3 separate regions of the Homo sapiens genome follow, and regions 1 and 2 are each linked to region 3. The links are contacts of gene promoters, found by promoter capture Hi-C in human tissues and cell types (Jung and others, 2019). All regions are on one chromosome and are shown on one strand. Each heading gives the region's core, a stretch centred on a gene start or on the middle of the fragment in contact. The rest is flanking DNA. Distances are from core to core; before and after follow the strand shown.

The links. The method cuts DNA at HindIII sites, captures the fragments that hold promoters and counts their contacts. A contact is called where the count stands out against the background at its distance.
Region 1: the fragment with the promoter of GTF3C5 here is called in contact with the fragment with the promoter of AK8 in region 3 in 1 of the 25 tissues and cell types used here (ovary).
Region 2: a fragment that was not itself captured here is called in contact with the fragment with the promoter of AK8 in region 3 in 3 of the 25 tissues and cell types used here (dorsolateral prefrontal cortex, lymphoblastoid cells and spleen).

Annotation. Positions count from the first base shown.
Region 1 is chr9:133,028,719-133,032,894 of GRCh38, reverse strand. GTF3C5 (general transcription factor IIIC subunit 5) reads right to left here and starts at 1,898. Exons shown (of 11, transcript NM_012087.4): 1 at 1,731-1,898. The coding sequence starts at 1,883. It overlaps LOC105376306 (a long non-coding RNA gene), which reads left to right and starts at 2,473. Exons shown (of 2, transcript NR_135119.1): 1 at 2,473-2,745. RefSeq lists enhancers at 1,878-2,137, 1,582-2,233, 2,468-2,717. The HindIII fragment of the contact is 13,557 bases long and covers 1-4,176 here.
Region 2 is chr9:132,652,298-132,656,109 of GRCh38, reverse strand. It overlaps DDX31 (DEAD-box helicase 31), which reads left to right. Exons shown (of 20, transcript NM_022779.9): 7 at 3,618-3,662. Among named protein-coding and RNA genes, the nearest start is that of DDX31, 16 kb to the left of the region's middle. The HindIII fragment of the contact is 4,990 bases long and covers 1-3,761 here.
Region 3 is chr9:132,876,224-132,880,228 of GRCh38, reverse strand. AK8 (adenylate kinase 8) reads left to right here and starts at 1,945. Exons shown (of 13, transcript NM_152572.3): 1 at 1,945-2,057. The coding sequence starts at 1,974. SPACA9 (sperm acrosome associated 9) reads right to left here and starts at 1,331. Exons shown (of 4, transcript NM_001316897.2): 1 at 1,215-1,331. The HindIII fragment of the contact is 8,008 bases long and covers 1-4,005 here.

The sequences.
Region 1 (4,176 bases), core at 649-3,148, 150 kb before region 3:
ACAAAGGCACTGCAAGGTCTTACTGCTTTATCCAATGAGCTAGCTTAAAATTCTGGGATAAACGATCTCTTCACTGATCTAACGGGAAGATTGTTCGGCAGGTGGAAAGGACTTATGTCCTCGATCCTTATGTCCCTTGCCATTGTAATAAACGTGTTTATTCTCGTAGGATGTTGTATCATACCCTGTGCCTGAGGGTTAATACAAAGACTTACGGAGACAGCTCTCACTAACCTCCAATTTCCCCCCGCCTTATTCAGACAAACTTCTACTTTTAGAAAACCAAGAACAGCAAAGTCGAGACATGCTAAAAAGGTTTGAAGAGAAAGAAGTATGAAAATCAAGAGGGGGAAACTGTTCTATACAGTGAATTCTTCTTCAAAGGTTCAGCTTGTTCAACTCCCTTGTTCTTTGTTCTCCATCTTCAAAGTCTAACTTCCTTGTTCTTTGTGCCTCCTTGCCCTTAGTTACCCGCTCTGTTTAACTGCCCTTCCCGCCGAAACTAGTCTTCCCACCGAAATCGCTCGTCCCGTCACTGTAACCCACACCCCTGTTCTATTTAAAATAGCCAATTGAGATTAGCTTAGATTGTGTGGTCCAACTCCAACCAGCAGGGACAGGACACAAAAACAGGGACTGACTGCCTTAGGGATAAAAACCCATTCCAGGCTGGGCACGGTGGCTCACGCCTATAATCCCAGCACTTTGGGAGGCCAAGACGGGTGGATCACCTGAGCTCAGGAGTTCAAGACCAGCCTATAGGACACAGTAAATTCCACTTCAAAGATTTTAGCCTTTTACCTTCCTTTAAATTCAAGAGGGGGAAAATTAATAAATACAATGAGTTATGAGTTCCATTTCAAAGAACCAATATGTCAGTATGTTCAGCTTCCCTGTTCTTTGTTCTCCATTTTAAAGTTTAACCCCTCGTTCTTTACGCCTCCTTGCCCCTAGTTTCAGTAAACAACCCCTTCCTAGCTTCTATCACCTGCTCTGTCCTTAGTCATCCTGAGTCACCTGCTCTGTAACCATCCTTCCCACCAAAACTACTCACCCCGCCACTCAGGCCTGTGCCCCTGCCCTCTTTGAAATAACCAATCGGAATTAGCTTAGACTGTGCGGTCCAACCCTAGCCAATATGGGAAAGACACAGCAGTAGAGACTAGCTGTGTAAGAGATAGGAACCCCTTCCCCTTCCTTGTCGGTGTGCTCTCGCCATTGCTCCATCCGCAAGATGCACCCTTCTATAGAAGGAAATTTGCCTTGCTGAGAAAACTGTTTGCCAGAGTGCTGATTCTTCTTTGCGGCACCCAAAATTTATTTCCAACAAGCCTGACCAACATGGTGAAACCCCCTCTCTACTAAAAAATACAAATTTAGCCGGGCGTGGTGGCATGCGCCTGTAATCCCAGCTACTCTGGAGGCTGAGGCAGGAGAATCGCTTGAACCCTGGAGGCGGAGGTTGCAGTGAGCCAAAATCGCACCACCGCACACCAGCCTGGGAAACAAGAGCGAAACTCCGCCTGAAAAACCAACAAAAAAACAAAAACAAAAACAAAAATCCTTCCCTTCTTTGTTCTGTTGGCTCTCTTGCAGCGGCCAGAAGAGCGAGCAGCACCCTTCTGCGTAAGTAAATTTGCTAAATTTCCCTTGCTGAGAAATCCTTTGAGTGCTCGTTTTCTTTGCGACTCCGAGCTCTTATTCCAACACCGAGATTCCCAGCCCCTTACCCGGGAGACGCCTTCCTCGCCGCCCAGAGTCGGCAGCATCTTAGCCACATCACGCACCACTCCCGGGTACTCCACGCACACCATGCGTCGCTCCCGCCTCAGCTCCACGGGGACGGCGGCCCCCAGCCCCAAATCGGCCGCCTCCGCCGCCATCCCTGTGCGTCTGGCAGGGCCCGCCAGGGTCCGTCCCACAAAGTACTCCCAAAGGCCTCGCCTCAATTGTTCCGCGAAGGAATCGTTCCGGGCTCCCTCACCGCTCGCGTCATCCTAACTCCCCGGGCTCAGCAAGACGCGAGGGCCTCCAGGGAGCAAATGGCCCATGGGAGGGCCCATGTCTTCGGGAAAACGACCGCCGTGTCCTCGACTTTTTATTTAAAATTAAGCGAGTTAGTCCACCGGGCGGGGCAAGCACCAGTCTCTCCTACTAGCCAGCGAGGGACCCGGAGGATAATAAGACACAAACCTCCCTCGACTTCAGCCAATGAGAATCCGAGGGCCGAGCGAGTTTTTTTTTGAGCCAATGAGAAGTCCGGAGGAAGCTAGGTCCCACCTTCTCCTCCAGCTTCGTACGTTTTAACCAATAAAGAACTAGAGTTAACCACGTCCCAGCCCTCTTCTGGGTATTCCACCCAATGACACCTCGGGGGCGGGCCAGAGGCAGACTTCCGGCCCGCCTGCTTGGTGGGGAAAAGGTCCCGGCTGAGAATTGATTTCCGCATTGGGTCGGCCTGGTATTCTGTCGGTGTTGGCGCTTCTTCTCCCAAGCTCTTGCAGCCCCCTCGGGACTAGGTTTCCAACGGCGCTTGCGGGGGGCCTCGCGGAGGTGGATGTGGAAAAGGCGAGCGCGGGGGAACTGTGCTGTAACCATCGCCCCGCCTCCACAGAAAGCCCCGAAGCGCCGGCTCGGGGCCGAACGCGGGCATCCGGCGTTCGTCTGTTAGGCAGGCAGACATTAAGCGCCTACTGTGTGCTGGGCCCTACTCAAGACCCAGGCGGGGAGAACGGCGTCTGTCCGGTAGGCGCCCAGGGCTGCTGCAAAGCCCCGGAGCGAGGAGTGTGGCCCCTCAAACAGGGAGGAGATGAGGTCCGAGGCCGACCGAGGTCAGAGACCCGCACCCACGAAAAGGGTCCACCCGTCGGGCTGGCTGCTTCCCAGTGCCGTGGAGAGCCCCTGAAGGTTTCTTTTTTTGAGAAGGAATCTCGCTGTGTCGCCCAGGCTAGAATGCAGTGGCGCTTTCTCGGCTCACTGCAACCTCCGCCTCGGGTTCAAGCTATTCTCGTGCCTCAGCCTCCCGAATAGCTGGGATTACAGGCGCCTGCCACCATGCCCGGTTAATTTTTGTATTTTTAGTAGAGACGAGGTTTCACCATGTTGGCCAGGCTGGTCTTGAACTCTTGACCTCAAATGATCCGCCTGCTTCGGCCTCCCCAAGTCCTGGGATTACAGGCGTGAGCCACCGCGCCTGGCCCCTTGAAGGGTTTTATGCGGAGCAGTGATCCCATTCATGCATTTGAAAGACCTCTCTGGCTGTTGTGTGGAGAACAGATCAAAGGGGGAGAAAGTGAGTTCAGATAAACCAGCTCCGAGACTGCATAATCCAGTCAAGAGATGAAGGGACTGGGTTTGAGAATATTGGGAGATGAGAATCATGGCCCAGCACAGTGGCTCACGCCTGTAATCCCAGCACTTTGGGAGGCTGAGGCGGGAGGATCAGTTGAGCCCAGCAGTTGGAGGCCAGCCTGGGCAACAGGGGAAGACCCCATTTCTACCAAAAAATACAAAATTAGCCGGCCATGGTGGTGCATGCCACAGTAGTCCCAACTACTCAAAAGGCTGAGGCAGGAGGATCCTTTGAGCCCTGGAGTTGGAGGCTGCAGTGAGCTATGATCATGCCACTTGCATTACAGCTAGAAATTAGTAAGAGCAAGTGACCCCTTGGGTATGGGTACCCCGTTTCTGAAGTGATTTTTTTTTTTGAAAGACACGATCTCCCTCTGTCACCCAGGCTGGAGTGTAGTGGTGTGATCATGGCTCACTGCAGCCCCGAACTCCTGGGCTCAAGTGATCCTCCTGCCTCAGCCTCCTGAGTAGTTGGGACTACAGGCGTGCACCACCATACCCGACTAATTTTGTATTTGTGTGTGTGTGGCGACGGGGTCTCACTATGTTGCCTAAAGTCATTTCTTTTTGTTGTTTGTTTGTTTTGAGACAGAGCCTCACTCTGTCACCAGGCTGGAATGCAGTAGCACAATCTCGGCTCACTGCAACCTCCGACTCCCTGGTATAAGCGATTCTCCTGCCTCAAACTCCCGGGTAGCTGGGATTATAGGCATGCGCCACCACGCCCAGCTAATTTTTGTATTTTTAGTAGAGATGGGGTTTCACCATGTTGGCCAGGATGGTCTCGATCTCCTGACATCATGATCTGCCCACCTCGGCCTCCCA
Region 2 (3,812 bases), core at 17-2,516, 220 kb after region 3:
TTTTTTTTTAACATCATATCCATCCTCCCTCACTTACTTGTGCCCTGTGAGGAATTGATTTTTCTTTCTTCTTCTCTATGTAGTAACACCTTTTGAAATGTCAGAATCTCCTAACGTCACACAGCGGCACGTTGCTGCTGTTGTACTAGCATATTTACCATTCCTAGCCTGCGTTCAGTGTAGTCTCACAAAGTCGATGTTGAGTACAGACAACTCTGGTTTGAATTCCAAATCCTTTTCTTCTTTTGGGTAAATGTTTCTTATGCAAAACACGAAAACCATACTTGTAATTGAATTTGCTGTTAACTCTGTGCTTAGCTTTGGCAGTAACGTTGTTTTGTTCATTCATTCAGTGTCTTTGAGCACTTTGAATGTGCAAGGCACCATTGGCTTAGGGGCCTTTTTCGGATTACTTTGGTTTCTTCTGTTTTTTTTATTAATACTTTTTAGATATAATGTACCATATATGTTTTAAAAATTTCAAAGAGTACCAAAAATATATATAGCGAAAAGTAAAGTCATCTATTCCCACTTTCCCTTAGTGGCACAGTTTGCTTCTCAAGATGCCATGGTGGTTATTACCAGTCTCTTGTATATCCTCCTGGGGAAATTCTCTGCATATCAAGCAAATTTGAGGATGTGTAATTCCTCTTACCAATTTTGTGAAGTTTTTTGTTTTTCTGTTTTGCTTGGTTTGATACATGAGTGGTTGCTTTGTTATGCAGGATGTTCTGTGCCTTGCTTTGGTTTCTTTGATGTGTTTTGGGCTCCTTAATTAGCACCATATTGGGCTACCTTGTTCTTTTTGATGACTGCCTAGCATTTCATTGTATGTATGTATGTACCGTGAATTACTGACTCATTCTCTTATTGGTTGGTGGAATTTATATTATGTTCAGTATTTTGCTACAAACAAGGCCACTTAAATACTCTACAGTCTGTAAAATATTCTACAACCTCTTTACACACACATATGGTCTATAGGAGAAATTTCTGTAAGTGGAATGTGCATTTTTATTTTAGTAGATAATGCCAACATTAAACTTGAAAGGGAATATGCCAGTGTGCACTCCAGCAGCGGTGTAGAAGGTCCAGTTTTCCCATGCCCTCCAATGCTCTCAGCTGCTTTATGTTTCTTCTTCTTCTTTTTTTTTTTTTTTTTTTGAGACAGAGTCTCGCTCTGTTGCCCTGGTTGGAGTGGAGTGGCGTAATCTCGGCTCACTGAAACCTCCACCTCCCGGATTCAAGCAGTTCTCCTGCCTCAGGCTCCCAAGCAGCTGGGATTACAGATGCCTACCACCACGCCCGCCTAATTTTTGTAGTTTTAGTAGAGATGGGGTTTCACCATGTTGGCCAAGCTGGACTTGAACTTCTGACCTCAAGTGATCCACCCGCCTTGGCCTCCCATAGTGCTGGGATTACAGGCATGAGCCACCACATCCGGCCCTTTATTCATTTTTCTATTTGAATTTTGTTTTGTTTTGTTTTGTTTTGTTTGAGATGAAGTCTCGCTCTGTCGCCCAGGCTGGAGTGCGATGGCACGATCTCGGCTCACTGCAACCTCCACCTCCTGGGTTCAAGAGATTCTCCTGTCTCAGCCTCCTGAGTAGCTGGGATTACAGGCATGCACCACCACGCCTGGCTAATTTTTTTTGTATTTCTGTAGAGACAGGGTTTCACCATGTTGGCCAGGCTGGTCTCTAACTCCTGACCTCAAGTAATCCACCCACCTCAGCCTCCCAAAGTGCTGAGATTACAGGCGTGAGCCACCGTGCCTGGCCAAGTTGGTCTTTTTTTAAAGATTGAATTACAGGGCTTTTTAAAATATATAAATTAAGGAAATTAGCTCTTTCTCTCAGGTGTGGCATATTTTCTCCCCAGGTTATCATTTGACTCTTGGTTTTGTTTAGGTATTATTTTTCCATTCTGAAATTTAAAATTCTTAGGTAATAAAACGTATCAGTGTTTTATTTTAAGGTTTCTGAGTTTTATGTCATCTGTTAAAAGGACAATTCCAGCTTTGTTTTCCTAACTTTATTTTTTTCTCACAGGACTTTTGAATTAAACCATCTTTTTCTTGCTGATATAAAATGGCCCTTATATTATTTTCTAAATTTTGTTATCTATTTGATTCTATTCTCAACTTTATTTGCTATTATAATCTCTATTCATGTGCCAGTATCATTATTTGTAATTGCTGTAGCTTTAAATTATTTTAACATCTGATGTTTTTCATAAATGTCTTGGTTATTTTTGTACATTTATTTTTCCATATGAACTTTCAAATCAGGTTGTTTGGTTATATATGTTATTTTATATATACACATTTGTGGCATTTTTATTAGCATCACATTACGTTTATGGAGTGATTTAGAGAGAATTAGCTTATATGTACTATTGCATCCTCTTATCTGGAAATAGGGTGTATCCTTCCATTTATTCAAAATTTACTTTATGCCCCTCAGAGGTGTTTTTAAATTTTCTTCATATAGATTTTGTATATTTTTTGCTAAGCTTATATTCCTTTTATCTTTTTTGTTGCTATTAACTTTTTATATTGGAAGGCTGTTGAAATTTTTTTTTTTTTTTTTTTTTTTTTTTTTTTTTTTTTTTTTGAGACTGAGTTTTTCACTTGTTGCCCAGGCTGGAGCACAATGGTGCGATCTCAGCCCACTGCAACCTCCACCTCCTGGGTTCAAGTGATTCTCCTGCCTCAGCCTCCCGAAGAGCTGGGATTACAGGCGCCCGCCACCATGCCCAGCTAATTTTTGTATTTTTAGTAGAGACGGGGTTTCACCATGTTGGCCAGGCTGGTCTCAAACTCCTGACCTCAAGTGATCCGCCTGTCTTGGCCTCCCAAAGTGCTGGGATTACAGGCGTGAGCCACTGCACCTGGCTATTGATTTTTATATGTTAATTTTGCATTCAGCTGCTTGACAAAATTATCTTGTTTGTAATAGATTTTACATTAGTTCTCTTATGGTTTTTTTTTTTGTAAGATAAAATAACATCTGCTAACAATAATTTTGTTTCCTATTTTCTAATTTTATACATCATATTTCTTGTCTGATTGTATGGGCCAGGACCTCTAGAACAGTATTCTAGAATAATGGGGTTAGTGGGTGTGTTAGTCCATTTTTACACTGCTGATAAAAACATACCCGAGACTGGGAAGACAAAGAGGTTTAATTTGACTTACAGTTCCACATGGCTGGGGGAGGTCTCATAATCATGGCAGAGGACGAAAGACATTTCTTACATGGCAGCAGCAAGAGAGAATGAGGAAGACGCAAAAGCAGAAACCCCTGATAAACCCATCAGATCTCGTGAGACTTATTCATTATCACGAGAATAACCGGCCCCCCTGATTCAATTACCACCTCACTCCTGCCCCCCTGCCCTTCCTCCTACAACATGTGGGAATTCTGGGAGATACAATGCAAGTCGAAATTTGGGTGGGGGCACAGCCAGACCACATCAGTGGGCAACCTTATTTTGTCCCTTTCTTCATTAAGAGTGCTTCTGATGTTCTACAACCGGCCACCCCTGTGTCCTGTCCGTTTGGAGTCTGCCTTTGTTTATCCTGCTCATGGCATTTTTTTTCTGTGTGTCAACAGCGCAGTGATGGCCCCTATGCCCTGGTGCTCGTGCCAACGAGAGAGGTAAGCAGGCTCCCTTTTGGGACAAGTTTTAAGCACATGCTTTCACTAATGTCCCGTTGAATTTAAAAGTGGTTTTACCATGTTTCTCCCTACTGCACAAGCCACTGCACACCAGTTCCATTTGCCTGGAAACCATCCTTCTGGTTCTTG
Region 3 (4,005 bases), core at 696-3,195:
TTGATTTGTATTTTTCCAGGCTGCTAAAGAAGATTGAATCATGGTAGGAAAAGCGCCTAGGGCTTAAAATAAATGAGGAGAAAGGCAAGTCATTTCAGAAATGTCCAGGAAGCAAAACAAACCTCTCCAGTGCAAATGGCAGGCATGGCTGTTGTGTTCTTTGCTCAGGGGGAGGCAGCTTCCTTTTCTTCCCCAGCTATCTTTACAGTTGGGTTTGACAAGCCTACCAAGGTGTACACACTTTGAGGAAGCGGTTTGGAGGGGAAGAGGCAACAGTGCTGGCTTTTACGTTGGGAGGGCATGTCTCTGGGCTGATGGCTGGTAGAAAAGGGCTTTAGCTGGAGCCTGGATGCAGAGTTCATGCCCTGGCTCTGCCCAATCTAACCAGTGGCCCTAGCCAAGATTTCCCCCTTTTCTGGGCCTCAGTTTATCCATCTGTCAAATGAGAGAGTTTGGATTAGCCTCTTCTTCAAGAGGCCTTCTGGTTCTAAGGCTGTATGATCAACAACTGATGAGAAAAGAAGCCCAGAAAGGGGAAGTGACTCACCCAAAGTTACCCAGCCAACCACTCCTCATTGTTCTAATCCTCCAACTTCTCATCTGTAAAATGGGAATGAAGGTGCCTATTTCACAGGATTGTTGGAACGATTAAATGAGATACTACTACTAATAGTAGCCCCATATATTGTGTGCTTACTGCATGCCAATTACTCTCCAATACATTAGCTCCTGAAATCCTTCAGCAGTTCCCTCTTCACAGGGCAGGAAAGTGAGGCACGGAGCAAGCAGAGAGTTTGCCAAGCTCACACAGTAAGAAGCGGAGCCAGAACTTGAAGCTGGGGCTGTCTGCATTGACTGTGCCATTTTCCCTCTCCATAAGGTACAGAGACAACAGAATTTTGCCGAGAGCACAAAGAGTTCAACAAACTCTTACAGCTCCTACGATTAACGGCAACAGACAAGAGCTAGAGATCCCAATTCAGTGTTGCGACTAATAAAATATCAAGCTGCCCCGTACCACTGGGAATTCATACGACTTAAAAAGCTCCGTCTCCAGCGCGAACCTTCCCCTCGCCCCCACCCCGAGACAGCTGTGCAGGCCCCTCCATCCTCCGGACCCCTCCATCTTTCCATCCTCCACCCCAGCTTCCAGTTTCTGACCCAGAGGCCGGGGTGGGGTCCGAGTGGGCCCACCCACACTCATCCCTGTTTACCCTTGCTTGTCCTAGAGCGCTCTTCGCTCCACGGAGCACCCAGAGAAGTTGGAGTGACTCCGTGAGTGTCGGTGCCCCGGAGGGTGGGGAGGCCCGTTCCAGGACTTGGGAGGCGAGGGTGGGTGGGGACGTCGGGCGAGAAGGGGCGGGGCCGCGGGCGTGATTGTTACCGCCGGTGCCATAGCAATCGGGTCACTTGGCGGCTTGGCCAGAGCCGGGGAGCTGGGAGGGGTCTACCGGGGCTCGACTCTAGGAGTTGGGCTGAGGATTTCCACCCGATCCTCGAACCTCCGGCCCATCTCATGGACGCCCCTCCCCCTTCAAACACCCTCCCCCACATTTATTCCCGCGTCTGTTTTAAAGATGGGTAAACTGAGGCACAGGGAGCCGGGCCGGGGAGCACTGACAGAACCAGAAGCAGGTTCTGCCTCCCGTCCCCTCGGAGGGCCGACTTGCCCCTTCTGGGTTTCGTCGGGGGTCTCAGATACGAGGAGGCCCAGCTGGAAGCCACCTGAGGGTGTCCCCCGCTAAGATGCGCAAATGGGAAAAGCGAGGCCGGGGTTGGGGAAAGAACTTGCCCGAGCCGCAGAGCGCGTCAGCCGGGGAGGTCGGGGCGGGGGCGACCCGCGCGACCGAGGATCGGGTATCTGGGCCCGGCGCGGAGCCTGCAGGGCGGGGCCGCGGCGCGTGCTGATGACGCAGTCGGCGCGGCGGCCCTAGCGACGCGGTTACTAGGGAGCGGCGAGCCGAGACGGCTACATGGACGCCACTATCGCCCCGCACCGTATCCCCCCCGAGATGCCCCAGTACGGGGAGGAGAACCACATCTTCGAGTTGATGCAGGTGACCGGACACCCCTGCCCGTCGCGACGCTGGCGGCGGCTCGGGAGCCTCCACTGCGACGTCGGGTGCGCGGCCGGGACCCGCAGCTGGGGCCGAGTCGCGCGCCCACGAAGCAGCCCAACTCGGGATGTACGATTCGTGTGTCGCCGTGACCCCGAGGGGGCCCTCGAGCTGGGGACGCTCCTGGTCCTGCCCGGGTTTGCCTCAGGCGGACCCAGGGGGAGGAAGGGGGCCACTCGAGCCGGGATTTGGTCCTGGCTGTGCCGCCAGCGGGCCTTATGGTCTGGAACCAGTCCTTTCCTTTTCTCGGTTTCCCCACCTGTGAAATGCCAGGTTGCAAGAGGTGGTCTCCCAGGGGCTCTCCCGGCGCTGACAATTACCATCTGTCGAATTTGTGGGGAGCCTCTCGGCCCAGGTTTCTGAGGTGGGCATTGTCCGAGTTCAAGCTGGCATCTCCATCCTCAGAGAGGGCCGCCTCTGGGACAGCAGCATCTCCCACCTTGGTCCCTCCTCCTCAGGGCCAGACGTCCCCGGCAGCTCCGAAGCTCTCATTCTGGCTCCAGGCCTGACTGGGCCCCCAGCTCACCGTGTGACTTTGGGCGAGGCCCCGTCCCCGCCAGGGCCCCAGTTTTCCCTTTTGCACGTGGTGGAGGTCAAGGCTTTCAGGAGCTGGAGGGGAAGAACTCTCAGCCACTCAAAGGTTCTGAGAGGCAAGGGGAAGCTGGAGCTCAGTTTTCAGATCATTTGTCTGCTTCCCAGGGTACACCCCATCCCCAGGGGCATGGCATGGAGGGCATAGTGGTGTCTGTGGTCATTTGAGGTTCTGCCCTGCACACTAGACAGCTGAGCCCAGACGAAGAAACCCGTGTCTGCACCTCCATCAAACACATTTCCCTCGGAAAGTGTTAACTGATAGAGGGAGAGCAAGAGATTCCTAAAACTGCTTGAGTGGCCAATCACAAATCAAATAGCTAGCTGGGTTAGAAGTCAGCAGGTCAGGGCAGGATGGGGGATCATCTGGAGCCCTGTTGTCTGCTCTAGAGAACCTGGTGTGTTTTCCACATTGATTGTTGGAGGAATTGCCCAGGAAAGCTTTTATTGATTTTGAAACAGGGTCTTGCACTGCTGCCCAGGCTGGAGTGCAGTGATACAATCATGGCTTACTGCAGCCTTGAACTCCTGGGCTCAAGCAATCCTTCTGCCTTAGTCCCTCCAGAGTAGCCGAGACTACAGGTGCAGGCCACCATACCTGGCTAATGTTTTTTTTTTAATTTTAGTACAGACGAGGTCTTGCTATGTTGCCCGGACTGGTCTTGAACTCCTGGGCTCAAACAGTCCTTCTGCCTCGGCCTCCCAACAAGAAAGCTTTCAGTCCAGTATTTCCAGTCCTTAGTCATCTGTGGATTCCCTCCATGTTTTTGACCATTTCCATTTTTTATACTTTTGATTTTAAAATAATGTTAGATTCACAGGAAGTTAAAAAATAGTATGGATTTCTGGTCTCCCCTCCCACATTGCCCCCGTGATAACATCTAACATAACTGTAGCACATTGTCAAAACCAGGAAACTGGCATTGGTACAATAGGATTACCTGAACTGTAGGCCTTGTTTGGATTTCCTCCATTTTTACCTGCATTGATGTTTTTGTTGTGCATACAGTTCTGTGCAGTTGTATCACATGTACAGATTTGCATAACCGCTACTGCACCTCCATTTAAACTAATCACTTGTTTAAATCAACTCACCTTTTAAAAAATTAAATAGCCGCTTTTGCCTCATCCTAAGTGATATCCTTGAAATTATTGATTTGATGTACTTATATTTCTAATACACGTTAAATACACAATGATTTAAACATGAAATGTAAAATATTTATGTGTGAACCATCTAAAATCATCTCATTCCATCATCGCACCAGTGACATACAAACATGAATTCACTCCAGCT